Linked DNA regions of Homo sapiens: region 1 is linked to region 2. Evidence: promoter capture Hi-C in 16 types of primary human blood cells and fetal thymus (Javierre and others, 2016). All regions are on one chromosome and are shown on one strand. Each heading gives the region's core, a stretch centred on a gene start or on the middle of the fragment in contact. The rest is flanking DNA. Distances are from core to core; before and after follow the strand shown. Region 1 has its middle 36 kb from the start of RPN1. Region 2 holds the start of SEC61A1 (SEC61 translocon subunit alpha 1).

Evidence for each region. Contacts are between HindIII fragments. The CHiCAGO score rates a contact against its expected background, and 5 or more counts as called.
Region 1: a fragment that was not itself captured here is called in contact with the fragment with the promoter of SEC61A1 in region 2 in 8 of 17 cell types (naive CD4 T cells, fetal thymus, non-activated CD4 T cells and 5 more); the score reaches 12.9 in naive CD4 T cells.

The regions. Positions count from the first base shown.
Region 1 is chr3:128,611,672-128,618,174 of GRCh38, reverse strand. No RefSeq gene overlaps it. Among named protein-coding and RNA genes, the nearest start is that of RPN1, 36 kb to the left of the region's middle. RefSeq lists enhancers at 1-45, 1-272, 66-355. The HindIII fragment of the contact is 2,303 bases long and covers 269-2,571 here.
Region 2 is chr3:128,049,286-128,056,178 of GRCh38, reverse strand. SEC61A1 (SEC61 translocon subunit alpha 1) reads right to left here and starts at 3,742. Exons shown (of 12, transcript NM_013336.4): 1 at 3,620-3,742; 2 at 3,277-3,344; 3 at 598-663; 4 at 428-506. The coding sequence starts at 3,626. It overlaps LOC102723759 (a long non-coding RNA gene), which reads left to right and starts at 4,004. Exons shown (of 4, transcript XR_007096073.1): 1 at 4,004-4,217. RefSeq lists a silencer at 3,429-4,068 and a cis regulatory region at 3,561-4,177. The HindIII fragment of the contact is 3,738 bases long and covers 2,477-6,214 here.

The DNA of each region.
Region 1 (6,503 bases), core at 171-2,670, 560 kb before region 2:
CAGTGGTGTGCCCGTGGACCTGGCCTCACGCACGCCCGGCCTTGGGAGCCCCTGCGGGAGGGTGCATACCCTGACCTGCCCGAGAGGCGTCTGCCGCAGCCCCTGCTTCCCCTAGGGAACCCCCGGGCGGCTGTGCCTCACGGAGGGGCCCTGCTTTACCGCGGCTGCATACCACCTCGGGCCATTTGGTCAGCTGCTTCACCAGCTCTCTTCATCCTCTTACTCTCCCTGAATCTTTTTCTTCGTTTTTTGGAGCAGTCAGAAAGCTTGGCCGAAATCAAGATAACTCGCTGGGCCCGCGTGCAGATTGGTGGGCGCCCTCTGCTGGGCCGGCGGGCCTCTCGCAGGCCTGAGGAGCGAGCTGCGCCTGCGCCCTGGTGTCCCTTCGTAACACTGCGGCACGTCACGAGGCGGGCACCGGGGAGTATGGGCGAAATCGCAGGCGCAGACGGCGGGCTCGGGCTAGAAAAGTCGCGCATGCGTGGGGCTAATTTAAAGGCGGCGCGGCTCCAACAGAACCAAAGCCAATTCTCCGGCTGTGGCGCCACCTACGGGTGTGGGCTCGTAAACGGCCTCCTCTGGCCGGACTAGGACTGGGTCTGGGGTCGGCGGGCTCAGGACCACTGGGCTGCTGAGGGGCTTAGCCATGGGGACCTGGGCTCTCAGCTGCCCTGGAAAGCCACAGGGCTAGCTGGGCTGGCCAAGGCCGGTGGCTCCCCCAGCATCCTGTGGTGGGTGCATCCCTGGGCCCAGTGGGGCATCCGGTGCTGCCCTCCCCACCTACGGGCTTACATCCTTTGGTTGCTGGGACAGAGCGCCCTACGCCACGCGCAGCCCTGCGCTTCCCTGATCCTCGGTTTCCCCAGTAGTAAACAGGGCCTCAGTTTCCCCCTTGTAAATCTCAGGGAGGAGGTGAAGTGGGGCCCTAGGTGTAAAGCCAGGTTCAGGCTGGGCATCCCTTGGCGCAAGGTGACATGCCCCAGACACCTGACACCTCTCAGTCTCAGACCCAGCGTACTTTCTCTGTGGCCCTCATGTGGCCGTATAGGAGTGGCCCACCCACTCCCACTCCCATTCAGATCCCCAGGCCACAGTGCCTTTTGTCCAGCCTTGGCCAAGATGCCTGACCCTAGTGGCCTGGCCCTGGCTGCTTCCATGGCTGCAGCTTTGGGATGTCCCTGTAGTCATAGGTGGCCTCATGGCAGTCCCCCAGCCTTGAACCTGGACCCTGGCTCAGGGAGGGGAAAACACGGCTGAAGAAGGGCTGGGTGTCACTTTCTCTCTTCCATTTGTCTTGGAGGCTGTCATGGGAGAAAACCCCAAAGGACCCAGTGCGCCCTCACAGTTTCACCACAAGTATCCTGACCGGGCGTCTGGTGCCGAGCTGATAGTGCAGGCCCCGGCCGCAGCCCCGCCGGAAGCCCATGCTGCCAGCGGTTGGGGGCCGCAGGCTCAGACAGGAAATGCCCCCGAGTGTACCCCAGGGCCCTCTGCAAAGGCCTGATGCTTTGGATGAGGCCTGGCGCCATTTTGAAGCTGGGCCTGACTCTGGGACTCTGGCCTGGTTCTGGGGCTGGTGGCCTGGGATCTGGGGACTGCTTTGTCACCTGCCTGGGCAGGTGTGGGAGATGACAGGGAGGGAAGAGAGAACCTTCAAACTGGGCTAGACCTGAAGCGAAAGCTGAATGATGCAGCCTGTCCCCTACCATGGCCAACCCCTTCATGGTGCCCCCAGCCCAGCCCTTTAGGGTCTCAGCTTCCATCAGGCCCTTAGTTCCATATGTGGTGTGACAGGCCCAGGACTAAATGCAGGGGACACAGAAGGGAGCAGACAGCAGAAGTGCTGGGCATCAGGAAAGGCAAGTCAGAAGGTAGGGCCATCAGGAGGGTCCATCGCAGCATCTGAAGGATTTGCTTGTGGGGGTTGGTGGGGAGGGAGGAGCCCAGACTCCTTTTTTGACTTCCACTCAGGGGATAGAATCCAGAAAGATTTAAGACGAGTGTCTCAGTCTGTTAAGGCTGCTATAACAAAATACCATAGACTGGGTAGCTATAAATAGAAATTTGCTTCTTACAGTTCTGGAGGCTGGGAAGTCCAAGATCAAGGCACCGGCAGATTTGGTGTTGAGAGGTCCTGCTGCTTGGTTCAAAGATAGCACCTTCTCGTGTCCTCACATGGTGGCAGAGATGAGGGAACTCTCGGATGTATCTTATAAGGGCACTAATGTCCATTCATGAAGGCTCTACCCTCATGGCCTAATCACCTCACAAAGGTGCCACCCTCTAATGCTTCACATTGGGGGTTAGGTTTCAACATAAGAATTCTGGGGGGATGCAGACATTCAGTCTGTAGCAGTGGGAAGGACAGGAGCCTGTTCAAATGCTGATGGGAAGGAAGGAGGTAACAGGGACATAAAGGCTGAAGATCCAGGAGAGAAGGGGCCAGTGAATAGATCCCAGTAGAGCAGGATTGGGTGGGATTGAGGGCTTAAGGCAGTGATCTCATGGGAGAGCCCTGAGAGACTGTGCCTTCATTAGCACTGAGGAGATCAGCAAAGACCTGTTCAAGCTTCGCCTCCTGGGCAGCCTTCCCTATTCTCCAGGTGGGCTGAGATGTCCCTACCTTACACTACTGGACACTGCTTTCTGAAGTGGAATGGACTGTTTGCCTCCCTACACTGGGTGCTCTATTTCAGCAGAGTTTAAACAGAGGCAGCACATCCATTCATTCAACAAATATCTTCAACTGAGTGCAGTGGACTTTATAAATGTCCTCCCAACACTTTGGGAGGCTGAGTTGGGAGGATCATTTGAACCCAGGAGGTTGAGGCTGCAGTGAGCTATGATCACACCACTGCACTCCAGCCTGGGTGACAGAGAGAAACCCTGTCTTGAAAACAAAAACAATTTTTGTATTTTTTGTAGAGACGGGGTTTTGCTGTGTTGCTCAGGCTGGTCTCAAACTCCTGGGCTCAAGTGATCCACCTGCCTTGGCCTCCTGAAGTGCTGAGATTATAGGCATGAAGCACCATGCCTGGCCTATTTGCCATTTTTAAATAATGGATGAGGTTGGTCATTTTTCCTTGTGAATTTGCCTTCTTATGTGTGGTTTATGCATTGTTGAGGTTTTTGCCTTTTTCAAAGGTGAGTAGGAAAGCTAGTAACAGAAAAATGGGTGCTCATTGTTATTTCTTTTTTTTTCTTTCTTTTTTTCTTTTTGAGACAGAGTCTTGCTCAGCCACCCAGGCTGATCTTGCCCGGGTGCAGTGGCGTGATCTGGGCTCACTGCAACCACCGTCTCCCAGGTTCAAGGGATTCTCCCACCTCAGCCTCCCAAGTAGCTGGGATTACAGGCACCCACCATCATGCCTGACTAATTTTTGTATTTTTAGTAGAGACGGGGTTTCACCATGTTGGCCAGCCTGGTCTTGAACTCCTGACCTCAGGTGATCCACCCACCTCGGCCTCCCAAAGTGCTGGGATTACAGGCATGAGCCACTGCATCCGGCCTCATTATGATTTCTAAAAGTCAGCAACTCCGAGGGTAGACAGGAGTGTTCAGGAAAGGGCGCTGCCCTGGGAGGGACAGGGACTGGAAGACCAGAGGGAGGGCTGCATGCGTATTGTTACAAATAAATGCAATCTGAATGGCTAAAAACAAACAAACAAACTATACAAACACACACCAAAGAAAAATCCACTTTGTAGTGGGCACTGTTTTGGGCACCAGCAATATGATAGTGATAAATGCTATGAAGGAAATAAAATGGGTGATATGATAAATGGATGTAGTCTGGAGGGTCAGGAGGGCATCCCTTAGAGGAGACTCCTGAGCTGAGACCCAGGACAGCTGAGAGCTGGGCAGGGTGGTGTAGCAGGGTGTGGGCTGGGTGGCCATAAATCCTTCAGCCTCTTTTCTCTTGGCCTCTTCCTCACCCCATCCAGGCCTCTGGTGGCTGCAGGACCTCCTGCCTGCAAGTCAGGTCTCATGCATACCTGCCCTCTAGAGCGCTCCAGCTTCTCAGCTTCCAGCTTCCTCTCCCCTAGGCTTGGGTCCTGGTGCCTGCAATGGCCCCAGCACTCATGCCCCCTAGACTTTGCGTCAAGGAGCTGTCATACTCATGCCAAGCTCCTGATGGGTGTCTGACCCACTCAAGCCTCCGGGCTTTCTGTTTCTCTTCTCTGAGCCTCACATTGCTCACCTGGAGAATGAGGACCATAACGATATCAGGACTGGAAGGAGCTCAGAGGTATGCTGCCTGGGAAAGCCCCTGGCGCAGCACCGGCTCAAGGAGCAGGAGTCTCTTCCTTTGACAGATACCAGGGTGACAAGTATAATGCTTTGATTTGAACTAAGAGTAGCTGTTTACAAAGTGCTTTCTTTATAAATGTCCATTTATTCATTGGTTCAGACTGCAGATCGAGGTCTCAGCAGTCTGAACCACCTATTGGGTTGGAGCCCTAGGTGTGGAGGGAGAAGCCAGCCCTCGCTGAGACAGACAGACCTGGGACAGGTCCCTCTCTGCAGCCGGCACCTGTGTGAACTTGGGCAAGTCCCTGACCTCTCTGGGCCTCAAGTCTTACTGCACAATGACAGATGTCCAAGGGCCTTCTAGCATTGATGAGCTGGGATTCTGGGGCCAGTTAGTGCAGGCAGAGTCCCAGAAGCAGCCTCAGTGGAGGGAGGGAGGAAGCACAGATTTTTGTTTTTATTTTATTTTTCCAAATTCCTGTTCCTCCACAGTGCTGGGATGAGGCAGGTATGAGGTCCCTACGGCGGGTCTCATGGTTGCCTTGTCAGTGAACGCTGGGGGTGCTGTGATGCAATGTGGATCCTTCCTGACCCCTGTGACCTGTGCTAGCAGGGTGGGGCCTTCTGTCTGTCTCCGTCTCATGTTTACCCTCCTGGGGGGTGCGCAGAAGGCACATGGGCACACACATGCAGCTCTTCCAATGCTCAGATGTGCGCATGCCACTCTCACACCTGTGACTGTCACCGAGGCTCACAGACATGCACACACGAGTGAACACACGCAGGTGCACACACGGCGCTAGGCAGATTCACACATGCCAGATACGTGCACTCGCCATGTCCCTGGCCCTGGGGATACAGTCGGGAGTGGGCAGAGTCCCCGCCACAGGGACCTTGTGCAGCCCACAGAGATGCCTGCAGAGTGGAAATGATAAGGAGCCCGTTCACGCTCTGCCAGGTGCGGCTCTGGCTGCCACTGTCACCAGTGAGGGAACTTGCACAGCATGTGAGCCTGGCGTGCCGGTCTCAGAGCCTGTGTTCTCGCCTTCTGCACTACCCATCCTTTCTCACAGACTCTCCCCTTCATGCACAAGTGCACAGACTCCCAGAGGCATGCAGAGGCACACAGGCTGCTCTGGGGCACACGTGCGTGCAGAAACACTCTGCGTGGTGTGCTCACACGGTGAGTGCACCCTGCCGCTCTGTGCTACCACGCGCTGCTGCTCTGGAGAGCACCTGTCTGTTTTCTTTAAAAAAATTTAAATATAGGCTAGGTGTGGTGGCTCACGCCTGTAATCCCAGCACTTTGAGAGGACCAGGCGGGCGGATCACGAGGTCAGGAGATCGAAACCATCCTGGCTAACATGGTGAAACCCTGTCTCTACTAAAAATACAAAAATTAGTGGGCGTGGTGGCATGCGCCTATAGTCCCAGCTACTTGGGAGGCTGAGGCAGGAGAATCGATTGAACGCAGGAGGTGGAGGTTGCAGCGAGCTGAGATTGCACCACTGCACTCCAGCCTGGGCGACAGAGCGAGACTCTGGAAAAAAAAAGAAAAAAAATTATATACATATTTTTTAAATAGTAGAAATGGGGTCTTGCTATATCGTCCAGGCTGGTCTTGAACTCCTGGGCTTAAGCGATCCACCCACCTCAGCCTCTCAAAGTGCTGGAATTACAGGCATGAGCCACCACACTGGCCACCTGTCACGTTCCTAAGTCTCAGCTCCAGGTCCTGTCACTCTCCCCTCTGCCTCTTGGGGCCTGGCTTGAAGCCCTGAGGCCTGCCCACTTTCCTGACCACTTCTCTCCATCAGGATGGGGCCCCAGGCCTGGAGCTTGTGCATGGCACAAAGGCCTGGAGGAGAGGGAGTGGGGTCCAGGCACACAGGGAGTGCATGTTGGATGGACATGGACGAAGGCATGGCCACCCACCACCAGCACCCGCAGCTCTACCCGAGAGCCCAGGGTTTCCCTCTCCACCAGTAGAGAGGTGTGGCCTGCAGCTGGTCCACTGGGCCAGGTGCTGGGAGCCCTGGGGGAGCAGGACCAGAGGATGGGGTGGGGGGATTTGTCAGAGATGGAGGCTGACCTGAGGAGGAGATCCTTCTGAATCTGACAGGGCTAGAGAGGGGTGATTTGGGGAGGGAGGCTTGGGCTGGAGGAATCCATACACACTCGGGGTGAGGGGGAAGGAGAGGCGTTAGCTCCAGGAAGGTGTTATTTTGGGCTGTGACCCATGTGTGTGTGT
Region 2 (6,893 bases), core at 2,493-4,992:
TAACTGGTTAGAGGATATAAAACACTGTTACATATTTTTTGACACTATATGTAACCTATAGATATGAAAAAGATACAGCTGAAAAACAAATTACATATTCTGAAGAATGTTATCAATGGAAATGTCATCATTTCAGGTATTCAAAAAGTATTCTAGTTTTTCCATGTTTTTTATTCTCTCTATAGCATAGACTTATCTTCTCATTACAGGTTTTGTACTGCATTCAAATACAATTCCAAATATGATGGTATGCCTTGGTGCTGAACTCAGCATTTAATAAGGCTATTCAACACAGCACTTTAACATTCTTCACTCTATTTTCCAAGTCACTCTCTAAGTTCCATATAAAGCCAAAGCCTATTAATTTAACTAAGTGAAGCTAGGTAAGCCTACACTCTACAGAGAAAAGACAGAGCCAGAGTCCTACCTCTGTTAGAGGCTAGAATCACTCTCATCCAATAGAAAGGGTCAGCTGAATCTGAAGACATGATCCCAAACAGGGGAATCTGGGAACAGGCAAAGAGCAAAACAGTCAGCACTCCTGTTTCCAGCCACTCTTATCCCCCTCCCCAATACGAAATACAAGCCTGAGCTTACCTGGCAGCACACTAAGAAGATAAAGAGGGTGATAGCGGTCCACAGCACTTTCTCCTTAAACTGAATCTAGAGTAGGAGAGAATGAATTGAAGCAGGGAGTTACTTTGAAAAGCAAATTAATAAAAATGGACTCCAATCAGACCCCTTTCTCTAAAAATGGACTCCAACCAGACTCTTTTCTCTGTTCAGCAGAGAAGCCAAACCATGTACCAAACATAAGTACCATGTACTGCGTAACTTCCTCTGCACAGAGCACAATGCAAGGACCTACAGGCATCACCCCAGCTCACCTCACACCACAGAGCATTACCTTTATTTTACAACTGAGCCTTAGAAGAGCTAAATAATTTGTACCAAACCCCAATGCTAAAGTGAGTTTGAGTCCCAAACTGTGCTTTTAACCATTAGCATTAACAGTTAAGACTCAAGAACAAAGAATGTCACAATAGAACATGACTTGTAAAACACACGAGCAACCACTTTTCATTTGAGTTTCAGTCACAAAACCTTGTTATTCTAGAGTCAAGTAATTTGGAATTGCTCAATAGTGTATTTTCTATGAATTAAGGGTAAAACAGTGTAATAAACCATATTGGGGAAGGGCAGGAGAGTTGCATGTTTAACCTACTAGTAACATTTGTTTAAGGATTTTCACATCTTCTCAGGTACATAGGTTGCATAGGTGACAAGAATCACTGTAAAGATGACTATTAAGTATTAAGTATCATTAGAAAACCTCCCACCCAAAACCTCTGTCACTAAAGAGTAGAGTGGGAACTCTTCCAGGTTTTCTGCCTCTGAAACTGAGTGTCTTCACTAATACCTGCTGCCTACACTACATTAATGGCTTTAGAGGGCTTAACAAACATTAATTATTGTACAGACGGAAGATTCTGAGGTTGAAATACCTTGTGAGAGACTGACAGTATTAAGTGACAAAACTGTGTTCTTTAAAAACACTTCTAGGCAGGCACTGAGTCAGCATTCCTGGCCCTCTGGCCAGAACTGGAGTCACAGTCCTCTAACTATACATGCAGGCAAAGTAGGACACAGTCATACGGCCACACAACAGTGGGTGAATCAGTGTTCAGATACTCCATCCAAAGCTGGGGGCATTCACAGGACTCTTCTTCTCTTGAGAATGGTCCTCTTCCCACCTACCATCCCACCACACTAAGAAATTAGAAAGTGGCCAAGAGAAGGCAACGCCATTTCAGAGTAACCTGTCTGAAATGAATCTTGATGGGAAACAAAGAGCAGACAATTTTTTCAAAACTCCCTTTCTAATCACCAAGTCCTCTCTCCTGGTTACAATCAAATTTAACATCAAAACCCCAAAAGCTCTTTATCCAAGTCCTGTCTCCTCTGCTTCTTAGTAGCCCCTAAATCCATTCTTGCTCAGTACCACAGTTCATCCTCTGATGTGAAAAGCCTCTAAACCAACTCTAGTCCTCTCCTTTTCTTCCAAAGTGACATTCTCATGTCTGGCCCTTGTTATTCATCTCCTAATGTTCCCCACCTACAATTATGTTCTATCAATAGCAACTACATCTAATAACCTCCCATCCAAACATGCTACACTCTTGTCACCAATGCCTTTGCAAACTATATACTCCTTTTATTTGGAATTCCTTTCCGTCCCTTCAAGGAGACTTCTATTTCTCCTTCAAAACCACCATAAGACATCATGTCTCCCAGAGTTAATCCCTTCCTGAGCCACTGCTATACCTTGCACGTATTTCCCTTGTTCCGTCTACCACACTGAGTTACAAGGCCAAGGTCACATAGCTATTAAGGTGCTATGTAAAGGGTGGGACCTAGGCTTGCCTGCCTCCAGAGCCATGCCCCTTCGCTACACTGGAATTGAGGGGGTAAAGCTTTACAAATTCGTCCATTAAAAGCAGCACATGGGCATTTATATGAAACTATTTTACGTAAAAAAATGAAAGTGGATTCCAAGCACCCAAGTGTCCATGTGAATGCTTTAACAACAGTTTGAAAAATAATGTGAGGACACAAACATTTTATTCCCCACTCTCTAACCTAGGAACCTAATGAAACTTTTTTTCGTTGACAGCTGTAGTTACACTGGCAACACTCACTCCACACAATTTCTGATTCAGCACAGCTCTAAATTTAATCTTTCCTTGTTTTAATACACCGTCTGTGAAAAGCAGCAGACTTCACAAAAGAATAGCCTTTATTCCCCCTATTGTGACAGCCTACATAAAAGGTACAAAATCATTTGTAAATACTAAAGTGACAGCCCTTCCCTTTAGCAGCTGGATACAAAGGGCATCTCCTGGGAAAAAAAACCAACCCGTGATCTGCTCCCGTTGGAGGTGAAAAAGGGAGGGTAACTCAATCTGCTATCCTAACTGAGGCCTTATTCATTCATGGCCCGGATCCATTTTTGGGACAGGGCAACCGGAGGCTTTGTTCTCGGAGCAACATCCACCAAAGATGCTCCAAATAAAGCACAGTGATTTCAGTGGAAATTTCCACACAACCAGGTCACCTTTCGACAGCTCTCCGGAATAACAGAGCACAACTACACTCCAAGGGAAGAGAAGGGAGAGTTTCCATTGCCGTGCTGAAGCCATTTTTAATCATACTGTAAACTTCCAGAGTCCAGACAGTTTCCTGAAACCTTCTTTGTTGGCGATTTGGGGTACTTACCTTCCTCTCTGGCTTCTGAATTTCCGGCAGGATGACACAGAAGGGCTTGATGACTTCCAGAAATTTGACTTTGATGGGAGAAACAAAACAGGAAGAGTTGGGACACAGAGAAGTAACCTTCCGCGCTACCCAGGGACGCCTTCTGCCCACGACGAGTGAGAGCAGGGGCCAGGGGAGCCGGCCGCACCCCGGACGCGTGGGGATACTCGAGAAGGGCCGGGGGCACGGGCCGCGTTCTGCAGGGGGCCGGTCAGGGTTGGCCGGCGGGCGCCCGACCGCACGGGTGTGGGGAAGGGGGATCTGTTCCGTCCCGGCCTCAATAGGGCTTCCCTACAGGACTCACTTGCCATGGCGGCGGCTGCTCGGGCTCCGGGTCCCGCTTCAGCTCAGCTCTGCTCCGCGTGAGGCGACGCTGCCCGCGGCCCAGCGCGTTCCACTGCACAGCAGCTCCGCCGAGAGACACGTCAGTGCTAGCCCGGCGGCAAGCGGCGCGGCGCGGCGCGGGGCGGGGCCGGGGCCGGGCCTCGGATCGCTTCCGCTTCCTGCCACGCGCGCCCGCCGGCCGCCGCGCTTCGCCGCGCCGCGCCGCTTCGCCGAGACCTCAAGCCCCGGCATGCAGCGGGGCTCCTGGGGCCTGTCGGGAAGGGGCCTGGCGCGCGGGGCCCGCCGGGACTGGGGGTGTGCGGCTGCGCAGACTTGGTAACGCGAGAGCGCGCGGGGAGGGTGTGTCACGCCTCCCGAGACTGGGGCTGTGCGGCCTCACGGAGAAACTGAGGCAGGCGCGAAGCGTCGAGTGCGCGCGTGGCCCTGCAGGCAGGCGGAGACCCTGGTGGCTCCCATACACGTAACAGCACTCACTGCTCTTTGACGTTAGTGAATAGACCGTAAGCTCCCTGGAGCAGGGACCTTATCCCAGCGTCTACCGCGGCGCCCGTCACCTAGTAGGTCTCCGTCATTACCTGCTGAGTAGGGCGCGGGCTGGTGGGGCTTACCGAGCACCCTCGCTGTCTGAGTCATTAAGCAAACCCGGAGGCTTGTCGTGGGTGTGGGTCCCCTTCCATCTGAGAACGAATGGGATGAGTTTCTGGAGAGACTTGGCCGGAGAAGGGCCGGGGCAGCTCGGGAAGTAGTCTGCCTCACAGAAGAATTCAGGAAGGCCTCCTGGGAGAGTACCTTTGTGCCGAGCCTTGATAGATTCTGGCGAGAAGGAATGAGGGAACAGGTTGAGGAGACTGTTGTGGGCAAAGCATGGCGGTGTGATTGCCTAAGATCGGTGTGGGAAAGGGGGATAACGGGTAGGGCAAGGGATGCTGGGGCTGGGGGTTGGAATTTACTTTCAGGCATCTGTAGTCAGTAGGTATGATGTCATCTAAGAGAAACAGACTTAATGCTGTGAGCATTTAGCAGGGAGGAGGTGGGCACGCCTTGTGGGATCAGGCAAGGTTTCATGGAGCTAAACCTTGACCAGGACAGGTAGAAGTTGAGGGTACATATGTGGCAAGATGCTTTTTTGCTTTTAATTTAGGTGTCAACTATTTGGATTTTTCCATTCTCACCCATTTCTAGCAGATAATCAGGTTTTGTACATTCTTGGCTCAGAAAGTTGGACAGGACAGGAAGTCTTTTTTGGAATACAAACCCACTGGTGGAAAATTCAAAGGACTACTGGGAACAGGCAGGTAACTTCAGTGAAGTGGTCTAGGTGTGACATCACTTGATATCCATCCCCCACCAAAAAGGGGAAAAAGAAGACATTGACTCTTTATTCAGAGTCTGAAATGCAACCCATCTTCACTTCCAGGACCCACTGATGATCTCTTCTGGAGTTTTGGCCTGAAGCTAAAACTGGCAGCCCCTGGACTAAGTTCAGCATATAGACTAGATCCGATATTTAGCCATTATGCACCCTGCACCATATTGATGGTTAAAATGTTGAAATATTTCGAGGGTAAATAGTATAGTAATTACAATAAATATTACAATTAGTTAATAGAAATTTTAATATAAACTCATTGGTTTGTGCTAATAGTTGTAGGATGTCAGTACCATTGATAACAGGCCTCCTGTTGTTTCCACATTATGACACAATCTGGCCTGTGTCACTGCAGGGACTGCAGCCAAGTTACGTGTGTTAAATCACTGATTGCTTTAGGAGAATCACTAGTTTAAAATATTTTTATTGGACTGGGTGCAGTGGCTCACACCAGTAATCCCAGCACTTCGGGAGGCCAAGGCAAGAGGATCACTTGAGCCCAGGAGTGCAAGACCAGCCTGGGCAACATGGCAAAACCCTGTCTCTAGAAAAAAATACAGAAAAAAATTAGCTAGGCATGGTGGCGCATGCCTGTAGTCCCAGCTACTGGAAAGGCTGAGGTGGGAGGATCCCTTGAGCCTGGGAGGTCGAGGCTGCAGTGAGCTGAGATCTCACCACTGCACTTCAGCCTGGGTGACGACAGAGTGAGACTCTGTCTCAAAAAATAATAAAATATTTCTATTGTAAGCACATACATTAATTCTTCGGAAAATAGGTATGCAGTGTTTTATATTTATACATTTAAGATTTTATTATAGGATATTAGAAACATCCACCTAGAATGAAAGAGACCACAAAAATCTGGATGAATTTTCAATACTTTTAAGTATGATAAATGTAAATCTTGATATCTGCAGAAGAATAAACAAGAAATTTGTAATAATAATGAATCCCCGCCTGGAACTTCTTTTGATACTGTTTAAGAATCAGCACAAAATAAAATTTATAATTTATAAGATAAACTTTATTACATAAAATCTATAGTTTTGTAGTGAAAAAATAATTTTTTTCAACCAAAAATTTGACATTGCTAGTGACAGAAATGTTGGGTACTGAGTGCTCAGAAGTTCTATTGTTAAAAGATCAAAGTGTTAAACATATATTCATCAGAATGCTCTTAAAGCTTGTGCAAGTGAAGAAAAATTGTGATTATCGATGAGAAAAGAACTTAAAAGAATATAATCAGTTTCATAAATTAAGTATTTGAAAACTTAGAACTCCCAAAAAGGTTATCAGAGTGAGGATAAAGCAATCAAAAAGATTTAGGGCCAAGCTTGGTGGCTCATGAAATCCCAGCACTTTGGGAAGCCAAGGTGGGCAGATCACTTGAGGCCAGGAGTTCGAGACCAGCCTGGCCAACATGGTGAAATCTCGCCTCTACTAAAAATAAAAAATTAGCTGAGCATGGTGGTGCGTGCCTGTAGTCCCAACTACTCAGGAGGCTGAGACATGAGAATGGCTAGAACCCTGGGGGGTGGAGGTTGCAGTAAACCGAGATCTCATCACTGCACTCCAGCCTGGGCAACAGAGCGAGACTCTGTCTCAAAAAAAAAAAAAAAAAAAAAAAAAGATTTAGAAGGTACTGTCAGAATTTTTAGCACTATTATATAGTTAAGTATAATTGAGCATTTCACACACATTTACTAGAACTTCAAAAGGATTAATATTGATATGAACACGCCATTGTATTCTGGACCCACCTGTTAAAAACCAGATGTACCCAAATGAGAAAACAGCTTTTTGAAAAATATGTAAATCAAAGAGGTGTATTTAAAATCATCATCTAAGAAGCTTCATTTTTTTA